Linked DNA regions of Homo sapiens: region 1 is linked to region 2. Evidence: promoter capture Hi-C in human tissues and cell types (Jung and others, 2019). All regions are on one chromosome and are shown on one strand. The core of a region is centred on a gene start or on the middle of the fragment in contact, and the rest is flanking DNA. Distances in the headings are between cores, read along the strand shown. Region 1 overlaps ST6GAL1 (ST6 beta-galactoside alpha-2,6-sialyltransferase 1). Region 2 holds the start of ETV5 (ETS variant transcription factor 5).

Region 1 (6,217 bases), core at 2,046-4,545, 870 kb before region 2:
CTTGAATCCAGGAGGTGGAGGTTGCAGTGAGCCGAGAACGTGCCACTGCACTTCAGCCTGGGTGACAGAGCGAGACCCTATCTCAGAAAGAAAGAAAAGAGAGAGACAGAGAAAGAGAGAAAGAAAGGACGGAAGGAAGGACGGAAGGAAGGAAGGAAGGAAGGAGGGAGGGAGGGAGGGAGGGAAGGAAGGAAGGAAGGAAGGATGGAAGGAAGGAAGGAAGGGAGGAAGGGAAGGAAGGAAGGAGGGAGGGAGGGAGGGAGGGAGGGAAGGAAGGAAGGAAGGGAGGAAGGGAAGGAAAGAAAGGGGAGATCGGAAGTACTGGGTTGAGGTAGGTTTCCATTTTCCAAAGGGCAGTCAGAGGAGAACTCACTGAGAAGGGGACATTTGAACAAAGAGTTGCAGATAGTGGAGGAATGAGTCCCACAATATCTGGGGAAGCGTGTTTGCGGCAAGGCTCAAGGCAGGAGTGCACTGGTGTGCACTGGTTGGAAGGAAAGGATCAAGGAAGAGGGTACATGGAGACGGGGTCCGGGAGGAACAAACAACGATGTCGGGGAGGTGGAGGAGTCTGGGCAGGGCCTTTGAGGTCTTGGCAAGAACTCTGGCTTTTAGCAAATAAAATAGGAGCTGCTGCAGGAGGCTGAGCAGAGGAACAACCAGATCTGACTTAATATGCCAGAATTGCTCAGGCTGCCATGTGGGAACAGGAATAGGGGGCAGGGATAGTAGTAAGGAGACAGCAGCAGTCCCAGTGAGCGATGCTCATGGCTTAGACCAGCTGGTTGCAGTGGAGGCAGAGAAGTGGGTATATTTTAGACGTGCTTTGAAAATCATGCCCGATATTTTAGATGTGAGTGTGAGAGAGAGAAGAGTCAAGGATGATTCCAAGGGTTGGAGCCCAAGCAACTAGACGGATGGTGCTACTTTAATGGAAAAAGAGGAGACAAAGGAAGAGCAGACCTGGGGGCAGAGGAAATCTGGAGTTCAGCTTTGGATATTCTGAGTTTGAGATGAGACTGTCAAACAGAGCGTAAAGTAGGAAGCCTGATAGGAAAGTCTAGAGGTCAGGGAGAAGGTGTGAGCTGGAGATCCATATTTGGGAGTTATCAGCATGAGAGCTTTTCGGATGTTCTTGATCAGCTAGTGGAATTTTTCTCCACCCAGCTGCATGACTGTTTACTCTGGAGCAAGGATTCCTGGGCGTAAACCTAACTCCTCCACTCCTCAAAGGTCTGATCTTGGACAGGCTACTCAACTGCTCTCAGTGTCTGTATCCCCAAAAGTGCCTACTTCTTTTATTATGAGGAAAAAATGAGGCAATTCGTGTTAATTACCTTGCACATAGTAATAAGCACTCCCTATATAATAACCATTATAATCCCCTCCCTTCCTCTCTCCACCTCTTACTACCTTGCTAAGCTTGGTATCTTCAACTTCCCTTTTTTCTCACCTCATATTCAACTCATCCCTCACCCTGAGTGCCCCTGGATCACTGTCCACGCCAGTGCCTCACTGCCCCTAGAGCAATCCTATAAACAGTGTTGATTCCAACTGAATAGGTCGCAAGCTTCTATTTTCTACTCTCAGAATATTTCTTAAATCTGCCTCCCTCTCTTTGTTTTCTCATTATTTCCCATCTGAGTTCCCAATAAGTTTTACTTAAATCTCAATTATATTCTAATCAAATTAAAATGTCATTTTAATGTGCCTACATGTCTGTCTTCCCTTAAAACCGTAAGCATTTCAACTGCCAAGTAATAATTATCACTGTATCCCTAGCACCTTTATGTCCAGTGCCCAAACCGTGGTAACTATCCAGTAAATATTTGGTGAATGAATGGAAACATTTTATTGGCTAATTATTACCTGCTAGACACTCTGTGAAATTAAAATACAACCATCACTACCATATAAACTACAATTCCTGCCCACAAAGAGTTTTGAGAGACAAACTTAGCGTACCTGAGACAGAAAACAAAGCAGCCAAATAAATGTAATTAGATTACTATTAAAAAGAGAGAATTGGGGCTGGGCGCGGTGGCTCATGCCTGTAATCCCAGCACTTCGGGAGGACGAGGTGGCTGGATCACCTGAGGTCAGGAGTTCAAGACCAGCCTGGCCAAAATGGTGAAACCCCGTCTCTACTAAAAATAAAAAAATTAGCTGGGCATGGTGGCGGGCGACTGTAATCCCAGCTACTTGGGAGGCTGAAGCAGGAGAAACACTTGAACCCGGGTAGCGGAGATTGCAGTGAGCCGAGATCACACCATTGCACTGCAGCCTGGGCAACAAGAGCGAAACTCCTTCTCGAAGAAATAAGACAGAGAGAATTACACACAGACACTTTTCAATTTACGATGTGATGCCATTATATCTGGATAAACCCATCCTAGTTAAACTTAGGGTATGTTCCCTTTGGTCTCAAGCTCAAGGTTGATTAAATGATACACGGTACATGCTCCCTTCCTCTCACTTCCTGTACTCAGTTGTCATCGCTCCTCAAAAGTAGTCAAATTCCTGGCCCTCAATATCTTTGCCATACTGCCCCATAGTTGAAGATACATATTCCCCCTAACTGTCTGCCATGATTCTTGGCATTACTGGGTCTTCACTGAGAGTCACGAGCAACCAACAATCTATCTTACTAAGAAATGACTTGACTAAGGTCATGCTTATCCACATGGAAAAAGGTTAGGAATGATGTGATGTTAGATGGGAATGTAGGGATCTGCCACCCTTTGATGCAATTTGTACATAGCTTTGCTCTGTATCACCAGTCAGGGTAACCAATCTCTAAATTTCTTCCTCACCAAAAAAGGAAGGACTTCCTATTATTCTAATGAGGCAAAATGGTATAAGCATAATAAGTGTTCATTTGTGAGCTACACAGACCTAGGTTTGAAGTCCAACTCCACTGCTAACCTAGGGAAATCTAGTTGAATTTTCTAGGCCCGTTTATTCATTTGTGAAACAATACCAGTGTGACCTGTATCATAGCGTGACTGCTATCATAGAGTTGTTAGGAGAATTAAATGAGAAAATAGATGTAAAGCACCCAGCACACAATCACTGTGCACAGTGGCAGCTATTATTATGGATTCTAACTCCCAGATAATCATGGGTCTTAGTAAAGGAGGTATTCAAGGGTGGTCATTCAGAGGGTTTCCTTCAGCTTTAAGCAGTGTTTTATAAAGTGCTCTTAGTCTGTAAGAAAGCTTCTGCTGAGTTTTGTCATCAAAGCTGAGGTTGGAAATAGGTCAATGGACCAGGATAAGGGTTGAGTCTTTCTCCCAGCTCTGATGGAACAATATTTCCTGACTGCCTTCAGTAATTTATATGCCCAAAAATGGACCTTGAGAATTCAAAAATAAGATAAGACTTGGAATGCTAATAAGAGATAACAAGACATCATCAGTCTCCCTGAGGAAAATGAAGTGCCTTAGTGTATTGGTGGCATGACAGCGGATCTAGATGCTCTGAAGCTACAGAGAAGACTTCATGCAGGTTACCCACGGTACAAGGCAGTAGTGATGGCCCTCAAATATCTGCTGTCTTCTACCTCTGCCATCCCTCTGTTAAAGCAAATAAGAAGGAGGCCGTTAGCCTGAGGTTGTCTCCATAACCAGAGCTTCTACATAAGCAAACCAAAATCCAAATCAATGTAAACAGTAAAATGTAACTAGAGGCTTCACCAATCAGAAACCACCAACTAACCTCTAACTAGGGTCTTCCCACTCTAATAAAATATATTTTCTTAGCCTTCTTTCCACGTTCAGCCTACAAAAGCTCACTGTCCTCACTGCGGCAGCAGAGCTCTCTGAACCTCTTCTGGTTCTGAGTGCTGTCCAATTCACACATGGTTCTTTGCTCAGATGAACTTTGCTACATTTATTTTCTCTAAAGTTTTTCTTTTAACACCTCCTGCCTTCTTCCTTGCTTTGCATAGCTGCTCTACTCCACCTCTTCTAGAATATTAACACACCCAAAGCCCTCCTCAGTGCACAAATGTCCTCTGCAGCTGCATGTATACAGCAGACACTGACTGAGGAATGGGTCCCTGAAGAACAGCTCAGCCATCACACCCAACACGTGATGGCACTGATTGCTTGACCACTAGTGACAGGGACCTATAAAGGCACACATCCCACTTGCAGATAGTTTTGAGTTTAGAGTATTAGAGTATAGATTCATTGATCCAGAATCTATTTCCCCTTGACTTCTATCTTTTTTTTTTTTTTTTTGAGATGGAGTCTCTGTCACCCAGGCTGGTGTGCAGTGGGGTGATCCTCACTGCAACCTCCACCTCCCAGGTTCAAGTGATTTTCCTGCCTCAGCCTCCCTAATAGCTGGGACTACAGGCACTTGCCACCTTGCCTGGCTAATTTTTTTTTTTTTTTTTTTTTTGTAATTTTAGTAGAGAATGGGTTTCACCATGTTGGCCAGGATGGTCTCGATCTCTTGATCTCGTGATCCACCTGCCTTGGCTTCCAAAAGTCCTGGGATTACAGGCGTGAGCCACCGCGCCCATCCGACCTCTATCTTTAAAATCTAGTGTCAGGACTAATAAGCTTTTTAAAGACGTATATTCTTTCACAATAAGCTGTCCTTTCAATTCATTTATATTATAATACTAACAGCTAACATTTCTTGAGGGCCAACCATGAGCCACAACTTACAGGCAGGAAGGCACAATATAGCGTTTCTTAAACTTGCCAGATCCTAGTATCATCCAGGGTGCCCGCTGCATCCACTGCTCCCCAGGCTCCACCCCAGCTGGGCTGAATCTGAATCTGAGACAGGGCCTGGGAATTGCTCTTTTAACAAGAGTCTCAGGTGATTCTTAGGATCAGGCAAATTGTAGACCAATGGCACAATGGTTAAGGTGTGACATATCAGGATCCATGATCTGATTCCATCATCGTTTGTTTTATGGCTTCAGGCAACTTACTTAACCTCTCTGAACCTCAGTTACGTATCTGGAATTTCAGAATGATGACAGCATCTGCCTGTAGGGTATACGGAGGAATAAATGAGATAATGGTCATCAACCACTTAGCATAATGCCTGGCACATAGTAAGCTCTCAACAGTATCACCAACATCACTGACCTGATTGGTGCTATAAAAGCTGCATCCCTATTATTTTTGCTCAGTGCTACACAATTAGCAATTAAAGTGCCCGAGACCAGGATTTAAACTCATACCTGACCATCTCCGAAGCATTAAGCACCTACACAGCAACTTCTCGGAAGCCTTGGCAGCAGGGGAAGGAGAAATTAAACAGGCAGGGGGCCCGGTGGCATAGAACAACCCACATATTCAGGTACTGGCTCCAAATTCATGTTTGAATTCAGCTCACGTTGCATTCTTAGGAGCAGCTATTACGCAGATGCTACAGCCAGAAGGATGCCCCCGAGCACTATGTATTAAGGAAGGAAAGTTTGTCTTGGACTTCCTCCTGTCTCTGTTTCGACTCCTCTTCTACCCCTACCCTCCTTTGGGGACCATCCAAAATCCCCACTTTTTCTCCAGGTCTGCCCAAGGAGTTCCTCTCTTGGGAAGCAGATCAGGCACAGAGTTTGAGTCTGGCCTGGAGAACAGGGAAGACCTAAGCTTCACTTCCCAACTGTAAGGCCTCCCACTGTTACTTCACCCCTGGGACCTTCTCTCAATAGGTCCTAGGCTCATTTGCAGTAATGCTCCAGGCAGAGTGCATAGCTCACTGGTCAACTAATCAATAACGCTAGGCCTCAGGGTATCACCTCTCCTTTCTCTGAATTCCCCCAACCTAACCTAACATTTCAGTTAAAGTGGGGCCACCTGTGACTCACACTTTATATACAGTTTGTTTTACAATGAGCCCTCATTCATTTGTTCACACAAATATGCCCCAAATACAGATGATACAGAAATAAATAGGGCCCAGCTCCTGCTGCTGAGGTCTTAGAGAAAAGACCATAAACTAGTGGGTGGAAAATCATGTAAAGCATTAAAAACTAAGGGCCGAGGAGGTGGTGCCAACTCTACTAGAGGAAGTCAGAAGTCAGAAAAGGTAAAGTTCATCCTGGGTTTTGAAGTTTGAACAGGAGTTCACCAAGCAGAGCAAGGCATGCCCAACAGAGAATAGCAGTGCAAAGGCTCAGTCATGAAAGTGGCCCATTGTGTTCAGGGATGGGGAGAAGCTGTGAGGTGGGACAGGGTATAAGGGCTGCAGT
Region 2 (6,623 bases), core at 2,033-4,532:
CCTCAACGTAATAGACAAAGAACTTCTAAATACTACCTTTAACTCTTATAAAGGCAAAGATAACAAAAGAAGAGGAGCCGGGGAGGTAAATCATAAAGAGAAGAAGGAAGAAGAGTGGAGAGAAGATATCAGTAAATATTTAAAAATGAGGAGCCCACCCTGGGCCCAGGAGCTGGCTCAGGTCATCGCAGGCTGTACTCTGACTTTTAATGCTGCAGCCAAGATGGCTGTGCCAAGAGCTGTACCCCTTGTCCAGCACAAACCTCCAAATTCCCAGAATCAGAGACTCTGAGAGATGGAACAATCCTCAGAGTTCTTCTATCCTGGAAAATGCATTAGTCCCTCTACCCTATCCCTAAATCTTTCTGCATAAATGCCTCCTGTGATGGAAGACTCAGGGCCAGATACAATCTTCCTTTGCTGGACCACTCCAAACATCCCAGAGTCCTTCCTAACCCTATTTGGAGCTAAAATCTGCCTCCTTTGACTTTGGCCAGCTCTGTCCTTTACCACTCTGGGTTGAAATGATGTTTCCCGGTAGTCGCTGAACAAGAGAGGCAGATGCTAGGTCTCCCATATATGGGCTCTGGGATGTGACCACCTTGGCTCCTATCCAAGTTCAGCAACTGACTTTCAAGCTCTGTGACCATTGGCAAACTACTTAATCTCTGTGTCTCAGTTTCTCAACTATATATTATAGAATGGAGACATTAATAGCCTGACCACTTTGGTACTATTATTATGAGGATTAAATGAGATAATCTGTGAAGAATTATATATGGCATGAACAAGTCATATATAAAGTGCTGAGTAAACTTCAGATACTGAAGTTACACAGCAGACTGTGGGCTCCTCCAACGCAAAGACTGGGTCTTATTCATCTCTGCAACTTTTTTGCCTAGCACGAAGTCTGGCTGAATATTTGGTACAAAATACATGTTTACTGGATAACTAAATAATCGCAATAATTAATTGGCAATTATTCTGGTGTAATCCCCTGCACATGATCGCGTGTTCAAGACAAGCATTTTTGAAAAAAAATCTATCGCCCAATCCTCCCCTGCCCCCACCTGAGCCACTATTTGTTACTACTCAACCCAGAACTATCCTACTTCTCTTTTCAAAGTGGAATGGAGAGACTTGGCTTGAGGCAAAGGTCACAAGAGCCAAACTCCAGGCATCAGGTCCAACCCTGTGAGGAAGTTGCTGTGAAGCGTGCGGCACTGTTTTCCTGTAGCCAAAGTTATAAAGTGTGATTGATGTGTTACGGTTTAGATGGTGAGGATATGTGGCTCTGTGGGCTGTAAGCCTTCCGGAGGGCTGGGGCCTGAGAGACTTAAGGGAAGAGGAGTAAGAAAGCTCCTTTGGAAAAATGAGTTTAGAGAGCAGGATGTCATGGGATGGGATGGGGAGGAGCGGGAGTGGGGGTAGACAAAATTGGGGAGGAGGAGGATCTGGGAGCTTACCTGGGCCCTTCATCTAGCTAGGGAGATAGAGCTCTCAGGAATGTCAGCAATAAGCTCAGAGCACAACTGTACTAGTGTAAGATCTCCAGCCACCAAACAGAAACGGTACCACCTGGAGAAAGAAAAAGGGCACTAAGGGAAAACTGGAGTCGGAAGCAAAATGTTCTACCAGGAAACTAGATCTCAAGGAACTGCTTGTTACATGTTCAGAGTACTTTCCATCCATCAACTCATGCCCATTTCAGTCTTCCAAAGTCAACAGCTCCAGCGTGCCTGGTCAGTGCTGAGCCCAGGACTCAACACGGGTGCTGCAGGTTGCTTAGGGGCACGCCAACATTTCAAGGGCTATAAACGACAGACCAAGTGTCCGCTCTGTTTAAGAGACACAAGTGGAGATAGGAAAGAACCTTTGACTTAAGTGTGGGGGTGGCAGGGGCAGGAACTGCCCCAGAGTTGGCCACCGTGGGACCCCCATTGCTAGGGGCTCTCTCCTGTCACTTAGCATCTTTCCTCCCCACCGCTGGCACGCGGCGTGAATGGCAGGGCACTCCAGCAGGACGAGAACAGAGCTCCGTCACAGGCCCCCAGCATCCCCGGAGAGAAGATAGAGCCGCCCCACGGCCTTCACAGGAGGGGGTAAGGGGGCGGAGAGGGGAGAGGATTGTTTGTTTATTTGTTTCCTGGAACACCCTGTTAAGAATCTCAGCAATTGCAGTTAGTGCCCTATCGTTTGGCAAGCAGAGCCGCTTCTCGTCGTTCCCAGCTGCACGGGATCTAATTCGCAAATACACCATCTTGCATTCAATACTTAAATGGAAAACAAGCAGCCCGGGGAGGGAGGCAAAAAGTCTGAGTCTGCATGCCCGTTTCGGAGGGATTTAGGTTTCCAGGTCGGTGGACTGGCTGCTGCTGTCCCCGGAGAGGATTTCTTTGAGCCCGAACCCTGTCTCACCTCGACTACAGAACCCACTCTGGCGGAGGTTACGAGCCGCAGTTAAAGAGAAAACGGGATTTGGTTGGGTCTTAGGCCTTGCCAGTACAAAATAGTAACAAAAATCTGTTTGAGAGCTGAGATTTTAAAAGGAGATGCTGCTTATTCTTCCCACTGGAAACCTGGTTAAAAGAAATTAAGGCCTCTCTTAAAGGTAACTAAGATTAGAGGGCTCGGTTTCCGTTTTCTGTGTTTCTGTGGGCTAAACGCCCAGGTCGGTCAGCGAGTTTGTGTGGAATGACGAATTCCTCTCCCCTGAATTCTAAAATGATAACTTTGCTTGGTGCTGCAGCTGCGAACGTCTGGCGCCAAGAGACCCAATTCTGGTCGGGGCTTTGCTGGATGGAGAAGTGGGGGTGAGTGGGTAAGGGGGAAGAGTCGTGCCTCGGTGAAAAGTCGGGAGAGCGGCGAGAAGGGAAGTAACGGCGGCTCCTCCTGGCCTCGGCCCCTTTAAGTGCTTCACTGACTCAGCTAAGCTTCCCCCTCAGGTCGCGTTTTTTATGAATGAAAAACGTCCTTACATTCATTATATAAACAAGCCTGTGCTGATTGGCCAATGGCCCCCGGTGCATAAATTATGTAAAACAGACCCCTGAGGGGGTGGAGAGAGATGCACCGCTGGCCAATGGGGGCCGGAGTTGATGGGGCGGCTTGGTTGGATTTGCCCGCAGACAGGGTAAACAAGAGGTGATGGACAGCCGCGGGAACGGCCTCTGGCCAATGGGAACAAGGCTGGGCTAGGGCCGCGGGCCAATGGCGGCGGGCGGAGCAGCGAGCCGCGGGGGGCCGGGCCAGCGCTCCAGCCTGGTTGGCAGCTGCGGCGCAGAGTCCAGCCGCTGGTGCGCGGAGCGGTTCACCGTCTTCGGAGCGGTTCGGCCCAGCCTTTCGCCCAGGCGCCCAGGCCCGCTGCGCGCGTGCGTGAGCGCGCCTGCGCCGCCGGGGCCGCTGCAAGGGGAGGAGAGAGGCCGCCTCAGGTGAGGGGGCTTTGCGGGGGCAGGGGGGAGATCGGAAGGGGCGTCCGGCCACTGGTCCGACAGGCCCAGCCGGCTAGAGTTCACGGGCTGATTCAGAATCTTCAAAGTCGGGGTGCAGTAGCTGGGGTGACCCCCCCCGGGTTGACCGCCCCCTCCCCCCGCGGCCCGGTCCGGTTTGGTTCCTGGGAGGCGTCGGGCGGGTGCGGCTAACGGTTCCGGAGCGCGGGGAGAGCGGCTTTCCACACGTCGTGGGGGAGGCGCCCCGGAGCGCGAGTGCGGGGGCTCCCGAGTGGATGGGGGATCGCGGAGTTGCGAGGCTTTCACAGTCTCTGGAGATTCGAGAGCCCCGAGGGGACTTGGAGGCTCGCGAGAAGAGACGCTTGGCGGAGCTCCGCAGTTGGGAGGAGGGGGCGGGAAGCAGTTTGAGGGGAATGTCTGAGAGGCGCTGCCCCCCAGAGCACCGGGAGGGGGTAAATGACACAGGCAAGTGCAGCCTGCGGGGGCGGGGGTCGACCAGGAACTTACGCAGGCCTTGCAAGTTTCAGGTGGTGGAAAGTGGACATCCAGTCGCCCTGCTCCCACCCAGCAGGCTGAGGGCGTCCGGCTGTGCGGCGACTCGAGAAAATCGGGGCGCACCGGAACAGCGGCCTGGGGATGGTGGGGATAACACGGGTGTGGAGGGGACAGCACCGAAAGATGCTGCAGCCTCGCAGCGGATTAGGGTTCCGGCCGCATTTTCAGAGGGTGGAGAAAACTCGGGGGGGAACCGAACTCCTGGTCGACGAGGGGGTGCCAGGGAGAGATGTTGGGGGTGGGGGGATTGGAAGCGGTTGGTAGCGCCGGGCGCCGCACCTCGTTTTTATGAATGTGGGTGACTTTATGAATGAAGCGGGTTTCTTTCGTTGGCTCGCTGCTCCCTGCGGCTTTTTTTTTTTTCTTCCCTTTTTGTGAATGAAGCATTGAGCTTTCTTCCTAAAACGCTGGGGTGAGGGGCCTGCGTCGGAGGCTGGGCGTGCGTTGGAAATGGGGGCGGGGGCGCAGCTGAAGGAGTTTTCATGAATGGGGAAGGCTGAGAATTGGGTGGAAGTGTGTCTTGTTTTGTGAATGGGGCCCAGCGCTAGAGATCCAGTTACAGCCTCTACCTGATGTGGCGGCCGCGGCTCGCTCTCCCATTCATAAAACCGGGCCCGCTGCGCGCCACAGGGGAGGGGCCTGGATCGCGCCGCTGCGCTGTGCTAAAGTTTTCCTGGGGGCGCCCGGGGCGCGGGTGGTGGGGGGGCAAAGGAAGTGGTTTAAACTCCTGGATGAACTCGAGCCTTTCCTTCAGGCTTTTAAAAAAATTATACTTGGAATACAATTTTTCTAACCCTGGAATGCCTCTTTTCCGTTCGTTTATGGCAGTTTATTTCTTTTAATTTTTTAGAATTTTTTTTGCTCTTCCGGGTGAAGTATTTCATCATGAGACTGAAAAATATCTCCCCCTCCCGTCTTCTACTGGTTGTCCCCTTCCTCCTAACACATTCACAAAATGTCTTAGGCCATGATTTAATCTGACAGATTTTCCTAAGCGACAGAGCACTCTCTCTTTCATGCCCCTCAACTCACTGCTGAGGTTTCTCAGATTTTGTATACGGTTTGGTGGCATTTGAGAGAGGCGTTATTCTGAACATTTCTTGTGGTGTTTGGACGGGGCACGCAGGCAGGCTGGCGCGAGTGTTTTTCTAGGAAGTTATGAACTGTGTGCTATTTTGCTCCTCTCTTTCCTTTGACTTTGAAAATATCTGATTCCTTGGGCCAAAGTGCTGCGGAGGATGCTGGCTGTGAAGGGTGTCCTTGTATCCTGCCCACTTATGAAAAATTTGATATGCTACACACAGTGTGAAAAACAAATTGGATGGAATTGCTCACCGGGGGAAAAGTTTCCTGTTTAAAATTGTGTATATGTCAAACAAAAGAAGTTGACCTTTAAGCATTTTGAATTGCTTAGAGCTGGAGTGAGTGAAATTAATGTTTTTCCACCTTTTGTTGACTTAACGGTGTTTTTATTTGAAGAATAAAAGTGTTTAGGAAGATGGTACCTCCCTGAAATTGTTACTTTATTCCACTCACGTTAGGAGAAGTTTTCTCCCTTCTAACCCCACCCTTTTTCCCCAGACTCACACACTTACCCGTCCTGAAATGAGTTTCATTTGGGGGTGGGGGGGTATGTCTAGAAAAAAATGATTCCGCTATATGAAACAGCCTAAGTTTTAAAAGACCTTTGGTAGAGATGCATTGTACCACATGCAATGGAATTAGTTTTTTTAATCCATTACTTTTCATAGACATTTTACTCTTTTAGAAGTTGGAGATGTCACAAATATCTCTGTAAGTAACCAGGGAGATATTTGTGACATTACAGATGCTATATCTGTTTAGTCCTCTTTTAAATAAAGAGTTGTGTGTGAAGATAAGTATACCTCTGATCAATTTATTCCAGGAACTATATATAGTGTTTTAACAGTGACCTACAAAATGCTTTTGGAAACACCATGTATGTCAGATCTTTAATTGCCAATAATTTGGAATACTTAAACCCAGTTTCTCTGCTTCCTGACACTGTACTGTCAAAAATTAAATTATCTCTTTTTTAAAAACCCTACTACAAATGCCCTGGAGTATATGAGAGAATCTTGAAATCACCCTTTTATTTTATTTTATTTATTTATTTTTGTTTTGGTAGAGAACAGACAGTAGCAAATCTGTAATTTTAATGATTTAAATAAGAAAGAAAAAATGATGACTGGGTAAATGGATTTGGCACGGAGTACATCCTGTACCTCTGATACCATTAATCAAGCCCGGCATTGGTGTGTAAAGCTTGCACCTTGAGTAGGTTTTAAGTACTTCACAGAAGGGTAATAATTTTGCACAGGCCCTAAAAAAAAGGCAGTCTAAAATTGTTTCATTTCTTTTTTTCCCCCCTCTTAGTTAAAATCTCCCAAATTCATATTACAGGAGGATCCCTTTTCCCCCAGAAATTACTCAATGCTGAAACCTCTCAAAGTGGTATTAGAGACGCTGAAAGCACCATGGACGGGTTTTATGATCAGCAAGTCCCTTTTATGGTCCCAGGGGTAAGTTTATGTGGCTTTTGGTTTGTTTTGTCCTCCCTCTCCAATATGAGTCTTCCCCCTGTGGACCTCTTTACTA

The links. The method cuts DNA at HindIII sites, captures the fragments that hold promoters and counts their contacts. A contact is called where the count stands out against the background at its distance.
Region 1: a fragment that was not itself captured here is called in contact with the fragment with the promoter of ETV5 in region 2 in 1 of the 25 tissues and cell types used here (stomach).

The regions. Positions count from the first base shown.
Region 1 is chr3:186,978,794-186,985,010 of GRCh38, reverse strand. All of the region lies in intron 2 of ST6GAL1 (ST6 beta-galactoside alpha-2,6-sialyltransferase 1), which reads right to left. LOC124906314 (a long non-coding RNA gene) reads left to right here. Exons shown (of 3, transcript XR_007096208.1): 3 at 1-1,714. Among named protein-coding and RNA genes, the nearest start is that of ST6GAL1, 51 kb to the right of the region's middle. The HindIII fragment of the contact is 3,597 bases long and covers 1,497-5,093 here.
Region 2 is chr3:186,105,748-186,112,370 of GRCh38, reverse strand. ETV5 (ETS variant transcription factor 5) reads left to right here and starts at 3,282. Exons shown (of 13, transcript NM_004454.3): 1 at 3,282-3,431; 2 at 6,429-6,547. The coding sequence starts at 6,503. RefSeq lists silencers at 2,970-3,599, 3,630-3,729 and enhancers at 2,763-3,741, 4,500-4,559. The HindIII fragment of the contact is 3,753 bases long and covers 860-4,612 here.